Linked DNA regions of Homo sapiens: regions 1 and 3 are each linked to region 2. Evidence: promoter capture Hi-C in 16 types of primary human blood cells and fetal thymus (Javierre and others, 2016). All regions are on one chromosome and are shown on one strand. The core of a region is centred on a gene start or on the middle of the fragment in contact, and the rest is flanking DNA. Distances in the headings are between cores, read along the strand shown. Region 1 holds the start of ACSL5 (acyl-CoA synthetase long chain family member 5). Region 2 holds the start of XPNPEP1 (X-prolyl aminopeptidase 1). Region 3 holds the start of GPAM (glycerol-3-phosphate acyltransferase, mitochondrial).

Region 1 (4,711 bases), core at 1,915-4,414, 2.5 Mb after region 2:
CTCTGGTAGGGACTTGGGTAACCTTTATGTCTAGCTAAGGGATTGTAAATACACCAATTGGCACTCTGTGTCTAGCTCAAGGTTTGTAAACCATTCAGCACCCTGGTCTAGCTCAGGGTTTGTGAATGCACCAATCGACACTCTGGATCTAGCTAATCTAGTGGGGACATGGAAAACTTTTGTGTCAACACTCTGTATCTAGCTAATCTAGTGGGGACATGGCGAACTTTTGTGTCTAGCTCAGGGATTGTAAACACACCAATCAGCACCCTGTCAAAACGGACCAATCAGCTCTCTGTAAAACAGACCAATCGGCTCTCTGTAAAATGGACCAATCAGTAGGATGTGGGTGGGGCCAGATAAAAGAATAAAAGCAGGCTGTCCGAGCCCGGAGTGGCAACCACCTGGGGTTCTTTTCACACTGTGGAAGGTTTGTTCTTTAGCTCTTTGCAATAAATCTTGCTACTGCTCACTCTTTGGGTCTACGCTGCTTTTATGAGCTGTAATGCTCACTGCAAAGGTCTGTAGCTTTACTCCTGAGCCAGCAAGACCACAAACCCACCAGAAGGAAGAAACTCTGAACACATCTGAACATCAGAAGGAACAAACTCTAGACACACCGCCTTTAAGAACTGTAACACTCACTGCGAGGGTCCGCGGCTTCATTCTGGTAGCTAAACATACACAGATCAATGGGGCAGCATAGGGGCCAAGGCACTGCAGGGGTTCTCATGACTCTGAGTCAGGTGCTGTCTTGACCGACTGGTTGTGTGATTCCAGAAGCCTTCTTTCACCTGAAAAGGCCTCACTGGCCTCACCTATACAGTAAGTTTGCACATCATCTCCAGGGTTTCTTTCATTTCTACCCACTGTTTTTGTTTAGTAATGATGCCTTGCAGTCCTAATGATCTTGGAATCAAGAATGGTGACTAGAGAACTTCAAAGTGGAAAGAGAGGCTGGGCATGGTGGCTCATGCCTATAATCCCAGCACTTCGGGAGGCCGAGGCAGGCAGATCACTTGAAGTCAGGAGTTCGAGACCAGCCTGGCCAACATGGTGAAACCCTGTCTCTGCTAAAAATACAAAAAAAAAAAAAAAAATTAGCCAGGCATTGTGGTGCATGCCTGTAATCCCAGCCACTCCAGAGGCTGAGGCAGGAGAATTGCTTGAACTCAGGAAGTGGAGGTTGCGGTGAGACTCCGTCTCAAAAAAAAAAAAAAAAAAAAAAAAGGAGAGAGTAGGATGGCTGAGCCATGACGCAGTAGCAATGCTTCTTTTTTTTTTTTTTTTTTTGAGACAGAGTCTCGCTGTGTCGCCCAGGCTGGAGTGCAGTGGCGCGATCTTGGCTCACTGCAAGCTCCACCTCCCGGGTTCACACCATTCTCCTGCCTCAGCCTCCCAAGTAGCTGGGACTACAGGGGCCCACCACCACGCCCGGCTAATTTTTTGTGTATTCAGTAGAGACGGGGTTTCACCGTGTTAGCCAGGAAGCAATGCTTCCTATTCTAGCGCCTTGCTAAACTATGTGTGCTGCAGACTGTGTTCGTGATTCCGAATCCTAAAAACAACCGTCCTAGGCTTGTCTCTCAGCCTAGACTCTAGACTGATTTGGCTCATTTGGTTGTCTTGGAGACGTTCTAATTCTGAAGGGGGCAGTGGTCCCTTCTAGAAGATAGCTGGTCTGCAAATGCACACCTCTGCTTAGTCTGAATCCTAAAGTTATAGCTTGAGCCAATTAAAGTGGCTTCTCATTTTTCTCTCACTCTGATCTCAAGGAGCCCTTTTTCTTCTAGTAATCTAGACCTTCCTCTTCCTATCACAGTCTCAAGGATTGTGCCCCCAAAGCAGATGCAAAGCCCTGTCTACCCCTTCTCCTTCCCCTGAGGTAGAGCTTTATCGAAGGTTTCTCTTGGTAAACGTTAGCTTTCTGAACTAAGGGCCGTCTTTTTTTTTTTTCCCGCTTAAGCCCATTGCATAACAATCTCTTGTTTTAATCTTTTGCCCAACACTGCTTTTCTTACTGTCAGAGGTTACTACAAGTGTTTGAACAGGTAACTTCTACCTTTGAACTTCTGTTGTGACAGATTCAAAGGTTCCAGGGGAGTGTGTTGGCCACTCTCAGGACAGTACACAGTAGCTTCGGGTGTGTCCCAGTCAGTCCTAGGAGCTGTGGAAAGAGTAGAAGTGCCTGAATGTGGTGCTGAATCAATACAGCCAGCTGTGAGGGGAGCACTTCCTGGACCCAGGAAGGGAGAGTCTTCTTCCAAGGTAAGCTGCAATGATACTACCTGCACTATATTGAATATATCTGTGAGATAGTAGGGAGGGGATTGGTGTGGGGAAAGAAAGTGGGATTTGTTATGCTCAACCTAAGGCTCTTTAATAACATGAAATTACATTTAGTTGAATAGTAATCTCAGCTGACTTGTGTGGGAGGCAAAGAAAAAAATCAGTTGGAAAAGGGGTGGAGATATATGAGCTATCCAAATGCTAGCAGGGGATGGAATTGGAAGGGAACACTGATTTTGGTAAGTGTACTAAAGCACACCAAGCCAGAATGTGGGTCTCCTTCATCTTCCATTAAGAAATTTCTGTCTCAGTGTAGTTAGAAGGATCGTGCGTCAGCTGCTGAGGGCAGAGAGTCCCATTTGGCAGACAGAGAGGAAGGGAATCAGCAGATATTCGATTAGGTGCTGGGGACTGTTCTGGGTAGATTATGTATGTTACTTCATTGGTGTATCTCATCCTATAAAGCAGGTGGTATCCTTCCCATTTCACAGAGGCATAGTGCGTCTCCAGGCTGTTAAACAGCATGGCCTAAGCTACATAGCTCCAAGGTGGTGTGGCTAGAATTTGAGACTTGATTGGTCAGTTTCCACAGCCTGCCCAATAATGCAGAATTGTTGTGGGTTGCCAAAGCTTTCAGTTACCCCCTGAAATCCTGAGGGTGTCACTCATGTGCACAGAGGATTGATAGGAATACAACTCTGATGGGCCTTTAGAATGACTCAACCTTCCTGAACTTGAGCATTTTTACTGGAGGAGGTCAATAAAAAAAAAAGAAATAAAACCTCATCTTCCCCTGGCCCTGAGCCCTTTGGTGAAGGAAGACAGCACCCGGTGAAGGGCTCAGAGGTATTAGTGTGGCTGAGATTCGACACCCACTCTGCCATCCTCTGCTCTCCTCTAGAGGAAGTTGCCTCTTGGGGAGCTGAGTTCCTGAAACTAAGCAAATGACAAGTGCTCCTCCAGCCGTGAGATGAGCCAGAGGATGGAATGCCACAGGCCCCACTTCGTCTCCCAGCCCTTCATCTTTCTTCCATGTCCAAAGGCGGCTCCCCAGAGGCCAAGGGCTCAGCTCTTGTGTTCTCTGAGACTGTGGCACAGCTCACCCTGGCTTCCTTAGTAGGAAGCTTTTAAGAACTGCTCTGTAGAAAGAACAAACCCTAATCTAGCTCCAGCAAAGAGCCAGGATCATGCTGAACTTCCTGTGAGCCTTCGTGGGGGATCGAGGCTGGAGAAAGTGCTGCTTCATTCTGAGGTATCTGTGAGGTGGGGAAGGGGCAGGAAAATTTGTCATTTCGGCTTCCTAATCTGAGAATGGTAGCTCCAGGGCCCCCCTGTAGCCACAGCCTTAGGCGGATCAAAAATGAGACTAATACAGGTCCTGGTAATACTGGGGGTGACCAAGGCGAAAGAATCGATTTTTAAGTTAAGTTTTGAGGTGTGACTGTATCAGAGGGAAAGAAACCATGCCAATTGAACGACTCACAGCCCTGTCGTTCCTGACTTGCTTATTTTCTTGGCTTTGCCAGAACTTCTTCAGAGACCAAGGCAGGCAGCTCTGGCGACTGGAGAGAGGCGGGGTAGAAGGTGTTTGTGTGGGTCTGAGGGCTGAGGTACCCTCTAGCCAGACTTTCCTGTCCTCCGAATCCAGCAGGGAACAGCGTCACCTCTGCCTCTGTGAGGCTTCTGATCTGAGGGGGCACCTCAAGTCATTTTAGTTTGTTTGTTTTCATCTTAGTTGAAAGATGATAGGCCACAGGAGGGCAGGGTCAACTGTGTTGAGGCAAGCTGGCTTTTGTGTCGGCCCTTAGGGGCTGAGGTGAAAGGCTTTGACACGGAGCCAGGGTAGCTTTGGCAGCTTCTCCCCTCCTGGTCAGAACACTTCCACTTTCAGTTGTGAAAAAAAAAATTAAAACCAGGAAGTGAAGTCCCCGAGCACGTTAGAAAGCCTGACATGGCCTGACTCGGGACAGCTCAGAGCAGGGCAGAACTGGGGACACTCTGGGCCGGCCTTCTGCCTGCATGGACGCTCTGAAGCCACCCTGTCTCTGGAGGAACCACGAGCGAGGGAAGAAGGACAGGGACTCGTGTGGCAGGAAGAACTCAGAGCCGGGAAGCCCCCATTCACTAGAAGCACTGAGAGATGCGGCCCCCTCGCAGGGTAAGGGGACCATCGAGGGGGTGTTATTCAGCAAGGGGGTCTTGTGAGGGTGTGACAGAGGCCAAGGGGGCATCCTGACCCCCGACTTTCTTTAAGCGACTTAGAATCAAGGGCCGGCTGAGTTCCACGGGCACATCATGCTGTCTCCCTCCTGGTCTCGGTCATGCCTTCAGACCCTGTGTCAGGAGGAGCAACGGGAAGGAAGGATGTGGGGCATGCATGGGGCTCACTTTCCTTCTCTCGACTCTCTTGGGGAAGGTGAAC
Region 2 (4,632 bases), core at 1,250-3,749:
CAGGATCACAGGAGCTACGAAGCAGCTCAATACTACAGCTGCTCTGTTCTTGTCGTATCTTGGTCTCCGCAGAGTCCAAGATCTATCCACCTTTCACTTGTTTGGACAGATAAAATTCTTAAGTTCTCTGTCAAAGCACAATTATCATTAAATATTAAGAACTAGAAGAATATACCTCAGGGACTATCCAACTCAATTCCCTCCTCTAGACCAGGAAACCAAGAAACAAAGATCAAATGACTGGCTCAAGGCCTCACAGCTAACTGCTGACAGAGCTAGAACCAGCGTTCCAGCCTCCCAACATCCAGCTCAGTGCTCCTACCCTTCCCAGAACTTCTTCGACCTACACCTTCTCAACTTCATGATGAGCCACAAAGTGGGTAAGGGGCAAGAAGCATGCAGAGCACTTTCAATCTTTGTATAAGATGGTTATGGTAGCACTAGAAAAGGCCTTCTCCCTCTTTTTCCAAGAAATTCTGGCAGGGTTCTGAATACCTCACCCCCCTGCAACCCCCAGTTCATGGGAATCACACATGTGTAGCGTTCAGCATGGGGCAAAACAAGGAACAAGATGCTCAATCACACCTAGTGGATGAGACAAGGGTAAACTGGAACAAGTTCTAAGGTTGGGAAGTAAGCAATGTTGTCTTTGTCTACCCAGAATCCATCCCTCCTTTTGATGGGAACCTTGGTTTTCCTTTTGAGAATGTACCCTCTCCATTTCAGCCCAAGGGGTTCAAAGCAGTCTTATCCAAACACCTAACAGGCTCTGGGACCCAAAGCAGGTCAATCCCTCCCTCTGGCCATAATGATTGGTTCACAGATGAACATGAGAATTAAGGCAGCCCAGTGAGCATCAGATCAGGGACTTCTGCTCCATTAGGAAGGAGGGCTCAACTTCTCTGCTGGGGCTGTCAGCCTAGAACTGTCATAACCTGCCATAAGGAGAAAGTCTCCCTGAGAATGAAGCGGATACTGAATAAATCAGAGCCAAGAGATGATAAAGAGAAGTCTGAAGCCAATGTTGGTGGTGCTCCCGGATTCAGCCACACTAGAAGCCAGCTCAACCCCATTTTAGGTAAATCAATTTGAGTTCAGTTTCCATTACCGAAACTGAAAGAAGTGCTCACTTTTACAAGGAATGGCACTCAAATTCTACCAGTAGGGGAGGCGCCTGTGGAAAATGGCTTCCCCTCTCTCAGCCTTTCACTGGACTTTCCTTTGAGGTAAAAAAGACTCTACCAGCTGGTGTAGAAAAGACTCTTCTGCTCCTAAAAGGCTGTGAGTCTATAAATCTAGCACAGATCACCTTGGCCCCCTAAAGACCACCTGAGGCCTACAGCCTAACTCATCATTATCCACTTGCCTGACTCCATTTCCAGCACTTCACTTACAGGAAGCTCCTTCCAGATGGAAGTTCTCCACCCCTCCCACATACTTCCACAGGGTGGGTCTGGTTTTCTGCTCACCCTTAACAAGCTGTGGCAACGGCAAATCCAGGTCAAGGTAGGTTTGGGACCCCCCTACTCACAAACACAAGCAGGAGCCATGGTCTGTGTTCAGCAAGAAAGCCTGGCCATGCTGCAAAGTGAGTGCATTCATGTCTCAAGTGGTTAGCAGGTGGGTGACCCCTTGGGGATGGCCAGGGAGTCTGGCCTGTGGCCTCCATGAACTCTGAACACCTCTCTCCGTCTCCCACTTTGTCAGAGGCTCTGATAAGTACATCCTGGTTATGGCAGGGGAATAAACTAAAACATGTTTAACTTGAGGCCGGGAAATTATCTGTCTCACCCTCCTATGCCCAAGGAGAGCCCAGGGCAGGCTACTGGGGGGATTTTCCTGGAGATTATACCAAAATATTCCCTTACACAGCCTCTGAAACCATTTGGGTAGGGAGGGGCCCGCGACCGTCTATCCTTGTGGCGGTGACAGATCAGTAGAGTGAATTGCAGGAGTCAGTATTGTCGAGATTGTAACTTGAGGTTTAGATTCCTGGGTAACAGAAGCGAGGGCAAAGGCTCGCCCACCTCCCCGGACACGAAGAGGGGCCAACTTCCTCCAAGAACGGGGCCTTCCCGCGGGCCAGGAACTGTGACGGCCGCCGCCCCCTCAGGCCGAGTGCAGCAGTTCCGCGGGCATACGCGTCCAGGAACCAGACTCGGGCCGCCCCGTGCCCACCGACCCTCCGGAAACGAACCGGATCTCGCCCGGCCTCATGGACCCCTTCCCCCGGCTCCTGTTCCGGGGCTCCGGCGAGCGCGGCCCTCGCCAGACTGCGGCGGGCCGGGCTCCTCACCCGCGCGTCCCTGCCCGCCGAGGTGCAACACGCGCGGCCGCGCAGCGAGGGCTGCACGCTGCCCGGACGCCGGCTGCCGGCGGAGTGCCCTCACCTTACTCGCGGTGGCTTTCTGGAGGCTGCCATTCGGCGGTGACGTGCCCCAGCCCACGTCAGGGGAGCGCAGACCAGCTGATCACCCGCGGAAGGGCCGGCGCGAAGGAGGCGCGAGAGCCGGCGGGCGGGCGGGCGGGCTAGCGCCGGGTCGGCCACGCCCTCGCCCGTGGCGGGCGCTGGCGCCGCGGCCCCGCCCACACGCAGGCCCCGCCCACACTCCCGGACCTGGGGTTCGCGGCCGCAGCGCCTGCGGCCCAGAGCGGGGCCTGCCCTTCCACACCAGTCCGCATTGCCTCTCCCTGCAGCGAGCGGGGAAAGGACGCAGTGCTGCTGAGTGTCTTCATTTTTGTTCGTTTTTGTCGTCATTCCTCAAAGAGGAAAAAGGGCTTTGCCGAATAAAGGGGCTACTGTCCCAGGGATTTTCCGGCTTAATTTAGGAGGGCTGAGAAGAGAGGGACGTGGCCGGCTCCGGAAGAACCTCGACAGGGTCTTCGAGGCTTTGGAACAGGGTCTCAAGCTTTAGAAATGTCCCCAAAAGTATGTTCCCAGAGAGCTTCAAAATCCAGCTCTCCGCTCCGCTTGGATAGTAAATAGCCCCTTCAAACTTAACGTCCAAACGGAACTCCTGGAACTCCCAATGCACCGAAGCAAAGCAAAAACGTTCTCCACCAGTCTTCTTTGCCATCTCAATCAATGGCTACTCTATTCTTAAGAGGCAAAATTTAGGAATCCTCCCTGCCTCTTCTCTTTCACACCCCACATCTAATCTGCCAGCAAAATCTTGTTGGCCCTGCCTCCAAAATAGACCCCTAATCTGGCCGTGTCACACCACCTCCACCTCCTACCCTCTGATGTGCATCAGAGGGTTGTACCACCCCACCCGTGTGGTTACAGCAGCCCCCCAAATATCCCCTCACCATCCCGCACCTGCACAGTCCAGCCTGAACAAAGCCGCCAGACCAGTCCTTTGAAGCGTGACACCAGGTCACTTCTTTGCTCAGCACTTTCCATTAATTTCTCGTTTCACGCAGCATAAAAGCTCCATTTGATCTACCCCCAGCCACATTTCCTCCTGTTCTCACCTTCCTCACTCTTCTTCAGCTGAAATGGCCTCCTGGCTCTCCTTGAAAAAGCAGGGTACACTCATGTCCCAGGGCTTTTGGACTTGCTCATCCCCCAAATATTGAGGCTCCCTTCCTCATTTTCCTTCAAGTCTTCGTTCAAGTATCACCTACCCTGACCATCCTATTTAAATTTGTAAATCATTCCAATATTCCTAATCCGCCTTACCCTACTTCATTTTTTCCATAGCACTTACCACCTTTTAACAGGATTCTTTTAATGTACTTATGTGTACTGTATTCTTCCCCCTCTCCTGCCACCACCCACGCACACAACAAAACCATCAGTGCAGATTGTTTCTGTTTTGTTTAATGATGAACAATATCTAACATGTCATAAGTTCTCATTATATATTTTCTGCAGAAATGAATGTTTCAGAATGTGCACTCCTCAAAAGCAGGGATGGTGGCTCTCTTGTTCATTGTTATTTCCCTGGTGCTTAGAACAACACCTGGCACTAAATGAAAGTGACCACATTTTTTTAAAGGTGAATGGCACCTCCTCCTGCTTTGACCTTGGTGTAAGGCCTAATATACCTGTATCAGCTAGGTTCTGCTACCTGCAAGAACTCAAAGTCGTTATTGAATAAGCATTTAGGCAAGCCGAATTAGACTGTGTAGTTAAAGCATGAAAAAACTAAAGATGTGCTTCCTGGGAAAGCAGCACACATCTGTTGCATTTCCCCAAATTTATGAAGCCAAAAACAGAGAGATTGTAAATAAAATACTGGTTCCAGCCCACATCTGAAAGCTGGTGGGAAAAATCAAGTTATAAGAGAAAACGAGATAAGAGAGAGAGAGATAAGTGAAACTTAAGGGGGACAGGTATTTAATAATCACATTGCCTAAAAGAAAAGGAGTTGGCTCAGAATTTACGGCATCCAGCTTCAGGGGAGAGAGAGAAATACCTTGCATTCCCTGAGCTGGATTTGAGTTCCTGTTTGCAAGATAAAAAAAGGAACCCTTTCCCCTCTTGAAGTTTTTTTGTTTGTTTGTTTTTTGAGATGGAGTTTTGCTCTTTTTGCCCAGGCTGGAGTACAATGGCACAATCTCAGCTCACTGCAACCTCTGCCTCCCGGCTTCAAGCAATTCTCCTGCCTCAGCCTCCTAAGTAGGTGG
Region 3 (5,133 bases), core at 2,624-5,123, 2.3 Mb after region 2:
CCTTACCCCCTTTTAAATCACACAGTCGCACTACAGAACTATAAAGGCCTTACATAGTGAGCAAGTTTTTATAATTTTACTTTAAATAAAAAACAGGTAAACTTATATAACATTCCTTTATCTTATCAAGGGAACTTAAAGACCAGAACTTAAATTATAGCTATACTATTCAATTAGGGTCAAACCTTGCTCTTCTATTCTAAAAATGCTTAACTTTGAGCTCAGTTGCTCACATCTCTGTTATACAGATATAACATTCTCAAAATTAAGCAAAAAAAAAAACCCCACCATTTTTTATATAAAGACAATTAAGATATTTAAAATACGTCATGTTATATTGAAATAGGAAAAACAATCCAAGAAAATGTACGCCTTTTGGATTGAATTCATACTATAAGTTCCTAATTTTTTAAAGTTTACTTCTATTATAAAATTCATGCTTTTCAAGTATAACTCATGGAAAGTACATACCAAGAGAAAGAAAGAAAAAAAAATTTCTTACCGACCCAAAACTACTACTAGGGTTTTTTTCCTATGCAAAATGATTATTTTGTTTTCTAACATAATCAGTGTACATAAATTTTCTAACCATTTTTTCTTCCCAATATAATGCCATAAAATTTTTTATTAGGCTTCATAAACATACCAGTTTCTGTAGCTATTAATCTTGATGTGATATTATGTTGCTGCCAGTATTTGCACCTTCATAAACATCATTGAAATGAACATTTTTAGGCTGAGTGCTTTTAACTCTTATCCTAAACTTACCCATTCCTCACTTGTGTGCTTACATCGACCAACACTGTATTCTGATGAATGTGGCAGATAAGAAACATCTATTGTACCAAGGGTCAGTGCAGATTCATCCATGTCACAAAGTGTAATTCCCAAATCATGTGCTATAAAAAATAGGTACCATTTAAATTAACAAGGAATCGAGAGAGTAAATACTAGAACTCAAAATTCTGATTTCTACATTACTTTGCTCCACAATGGGATATCACATGAACTGACAGACTTCTACCATGTTGAGTCACAAGGTAAAAACTGACTTTGATGTGTTTATATGAACACAGTTAGGCTTCCCTGACTAGAAAAAAAAAAAATCAGCATTTGTATTCTAAGACTTCCTGAATATATAAGGATACAACATTGTATCCTTTGTATCCACACAAAATAGCTATGAATAGTATCCAAACAAAACATAGTATGCAAACAAAATAGTATCCAAACAAAATAGCTATGAATTGTATCCAAACAAAATAGCTATGAATAGTCATTTGCAAATGAAAATAAGAGCTTATTCTTATTTCATTTTTGTTAATTGAATAGTTCCTGGCAGAAGGAAGGCATGTTTATTTAATTAAGGCAATTAGGGCACCCCTTAAGTTCCCGTACTTAAATTAAGATCTTAATTTTCTTGTGATGTCCTAAAAGAACATTTTCACTTTTAATACAAAGGTAATACAAAGCTACAAAGCTCTGAAAGAAAAGCACACTATTTTGAAATATCTGATGTATAAGTTTTCATCCTTTTCGATAAGCTTTTTTCTACCCTAAGGAAAAAGATTCACTAAGAGTAAACTCCTAGAATAGATATTAATCCAAAATATAAAAACTTTCAAACATAATCTCTAGCCTCACATTATTTTTGCTTTTGGCTGTTTCTCACCTGGCCTAAAATTATTCCTTTAAAATCCTGAAAGGTCATGTCTAGATTAACAGTGTTCCTTTGGAAGGCATATTCCAATTTCTTTACAATCCCCACATGGGTTGGCTACAGTCACTGTTATTCTCGGCATAACCACCTATGTCCTTAAAAATTTAACATAAGTACAATCTAACATAACAGGCTAGGGGAGAGAATAAACCAATGCACCTGGGATGAAAGTTCTTCTGTTTCATAACATAAAACTTCAGGACTCAGCTATCAGTTTCGGGTGCAGAATGTCCATACAACAGGGGAGCCGCTGCTGCCTGAGAAAATGAAGTGAAGAGAGGATGAGGAGAGGACAAAGAGGCTCGTTTGTGCCAACAGGAGGTCCACGTTTTGCACTTCCTCCCTCCGCACAGTTCGCTCTAGGTCAAGGAGTAATAAAGAAGCAATATCCCAGAGGCACCAGCCAGCAGCATGCGCTGAGAGAAGCTGACTAGAGGATCTGAAAAGGACAGAGGCTGGAAGACCAGCTGTGAGGTTTAAATCTTCCACTGCTTACCATCTGTGTGATTTTTTATTACCATAAGTTGGTTAACTTCTATGCCTTAGTTTTCCCATCTGGAAAATGGGCAGAATGATAGCTCTTAACCTCCTGGATTGTTGAGAGGACGGAATAATATAAACAAAGGGTCTACCACAGTGTGTAACACACAGTGAGCGCTCAGTCCAATCAATGGTAACGCTGTCATTAATTATCTCCAGCATACCGGCTGCTCTCAGAGTACCCCTTACTGCCTCAATGTTCCCTAGGGACCCAGGCGGGCTGGCTGGCGGCGCCTCCGCGCGTGCAGATACTTAGGGGACTGAGTCCATAAGGACTCCTTCCAACCCAGGGGAACCCATGCCCCAGCGCAGTCTCCCCAGGAGAGATGAATCCTGATCCCCACCCCTGCACGAGCCCGACCGATTTCTCAGGGAGAAGACCGGAGCTCGGGTGTCAGGGAATAGGGGACACGACTGCCCCAGCAACTTGCAGGAGTCGCACCACCTCCATGCACTTGTCCCGGCGCTCCCGGCCCGAGTAGCCTCCCGCAGCCCACACCTGCCCTGGCAGTTCGCACCCTAGCAGCTCCAGCTTCGGCTGCTGCAGAAGCCCGCACTTCCAGTCCCGGCCAATGCCAGCTGCAGTGGCGCACCCTGATGACGCAACCGGCGCGTGGCATTGACGCGGGGCCGCCGGCTAGCCAGCGCCGGGGGCGGGGCCCGGCCTGCGAGCCTCAGGGAGCGTGAGCGGATCCGAGGGTGTAATGTGTGTACTCGAGTGTGCGTGCCTGTGTGTGGCTAAAGATAGTGTGTGAGCGCCTGGACAGATGGTTACCCTGCCTAGGCCATGCGTGTGTGAGTGTGTGTGGGTACCTCATTCTGCTTTGTGTAAATTCAGCTTATCCGGGAGCTTGTCCCTCTTCCAGGCTCTGTTGGGAATGTGCGCGTGGGCTATCAGGTTATGTGTGTGGTCTGACTTTTTATGAGATCTGTAAGACTATGTAGGATTTACTACGAATGGGAGAGGCAGGGATTGCAAATGGCCATGTTGTGTAATTTCTACCAAAGTGGCTGAGTGCCTTTTCCTTTAAGGAGGAAAATGAGATATGAAAAGAAGCAAATAAGGCTTGTAGTATAAAAAGCCTCAGTTAGGAGAAATAAGGGCTTTTTTCCCCCTTCGGACTATATGTTACACAGCATGGTGAATATAGTAAATAATAATGTATTATACAGTTCAAAATCGCTAAGAGTACATTTCAAAAGTTCTCACCATGAAAACTGAGAAGTATTTGAGGTGGATATGTCAATTAGCTTGATTCAGTTATTCCACATTGTATTCATAAGTCATAACATCGATTTGTACCCCCTAAATATATGCAACTATTTAGATAGTTTAAAATTTATAGCAATCCAGTCTAGCCAGCTAAGATGGAGCAACAGGACTGAATTTACTCTCCTGCCTAAAACAACTAAAAACAAAAACAAACAGGCATTTATAAGACAATGGCTTTTAAACGTTGTGCTGGACAGTGGTCCTTGAGGAGGGAAAACAAATGAGGTGAGCCCTATGATTGCCTTGATTTACTAACTAGAGGGAGCAGCCAAAAAGAGCTAGGCAGACTCCCTGAGTTGAAGAGATAGAACTGGGAGAGCAGGGAGGCCAAAGCAGCTGGAACTGTGAGTTGTATATCAGAAAGGAGAAAGCTACACAGAGAAAGAAGGAGCTGTGGAGATCTACAACAGATCTCACTCCAGTCTTCCGCTGATTAGAGCATGTGTGTGAGGAAGCTACCTAAGGGCAGGAAATAATCATGTATGAAGAAAAGAGAGAGCAATTACTAAAGTTTGCACAGGGTAGGAAATTAATTCTGCTCCCACAAGGCAGAGTAGAAAGATACCCAGTGATTATACAGGACCAGAAATAGTGCCTGATCCTGGCACCCCGACTGGAAAACCTCATAATTCACAACTCAAATGGTTTTGCTTCAGTAGTGGGGCAAAATTAGCTCTAATGTAAAAGCTACTCTGATTCTATCTTAGAAATCTTAAAAGCCAGCCACCAAAGGATTAAACCGTTTTTGAGAACAAAGTGTCCCAGAGCAAAGCACAAGAATATTTACAGGAAATTAAAAATAACCAACACCTAACAAGGTAAAATTTGCAACATCTGGAATCCAAACAGAATTATCAGGCATGCGAAAAGAAGCAGGAAATGAGAAAAAAAAATCAACCAATTGAAATCATCCCAGAAATGACAGAGATGATAAAATAAGAGAACAAGGACATTAAGAAAGTAATTATGACTGTATTCAATGTTTTCAACAAGTAGAAAAAATAAACTGAGCATGGGAAGTAGAGATGTGAAAAATCTTTAAAAAAAAAAAAGACACAAACCAAACATCTAGGAGATAATAAAACCACATCTAAGATTTTTAACACCCTAACACACACACACAGACACACACACACACACACACACACACACACACACACACACACACAGGATTAATAGGTTAGACATTACTAAAAAAGAAACAGTAAAAAACCTGACGGGAGGCTGAGGCAGGAGAATGGCGTGAACCCAGGAGGCAGAGCTTGCAGTGAGCCAAGATTGTGCCACTGCACTCCAGCTTGGGTGACAGAGCGAGACTCTGTCTCAAAAACAAAAACAAACAAACAAAAAAAAACTTGAAAGCATTGTGATAGAAACTATCCAAAATGAAACACTAAGGGAAGAAAAATACTGAAAGTAAAAGTAGAGTATCAGTGAGCCTAGTATACATGCAATTGTAGTCCCTGAAGAAAATGAGAAATATGAGGTGAGAATAGATTAGGGAGGACAGAAAAAAGCATTTGAAAGAATAATTGATGAAAACTTTCCAAATTTGACCAAAACTATAAACTTATAAACCCAAAAAGCTCAACAAACTCAG

What was found. The method cuts DNA at HindIII sites, captures the fragments that hold promoters and counts their contacts. A CHiCAGO score of 5 or more calls a contact.
Region 1: a contact is called between a fragment that was not itself captured here and the fragment with the promoter of XPNPEP1 in region 2, in 1 of 17 cell types (total B cells). The highest score is 5.5, in total B cells.
Region 3: a fragment that was not itself captured here is called in contact with the fragment with the promoter of XPNPEP1 in region 2 in 1 of 17 cell types (total CD4 T cells); the score reaches 6.1 in total CD4 T cells.

Annotation. Positions count from the first base shown.
Region 1 is chr10:112,372,002-112,376,712 of GRCh38, forward strand. It overlaps ACSL5 (acyl-CoA synthetase long chain family member 5), which reads left to right and starts at 2,115. Exons shown (of 21, transcript NM_203379.2): 1 at 2,115-2,268. RefSeq lists enhancers at 3,816-3,965, 3,847-4,347, 4,106-4,325, 4,348-4,711. The HindIII fragment of the contact is 494 bases long and covers 2,918-3,411 here.
Region 2 is chr10:109,921,012-109,925,643 of GRCh38, forward strand. XPNPEP1 (X-prolyl aminopeptidase 1) reads right to left here and starts at 2,500. Exons shown (of 21, transcript NM_020383.4): 1 at 2,391-2,500. The coding sequence starts at 2,422. RefSeq lists a silencer at 2,176-2,715. The HindIII fragment of the contact is 9,615 bases long and covers 1-2,907 here.
Region 3 is chr10:112,180,915-112,186,047 of GRCh38, forward strand. GPAM (glycerol-3-phosphate acyltransferase, mitochondrial) reads right to left here and starts at 2,851. Exons shown (of 22, transcript NM_001244949.2): 1 at 2,779-2,851; 2 at 1,880-1,977; 3 at 769-899. The coding sequence starts at 870. RefSeq lists a silencer at 2,769-2,998. The HindIII fragment of the contact is 4,662 bases long and covers 1,543-5,133 here.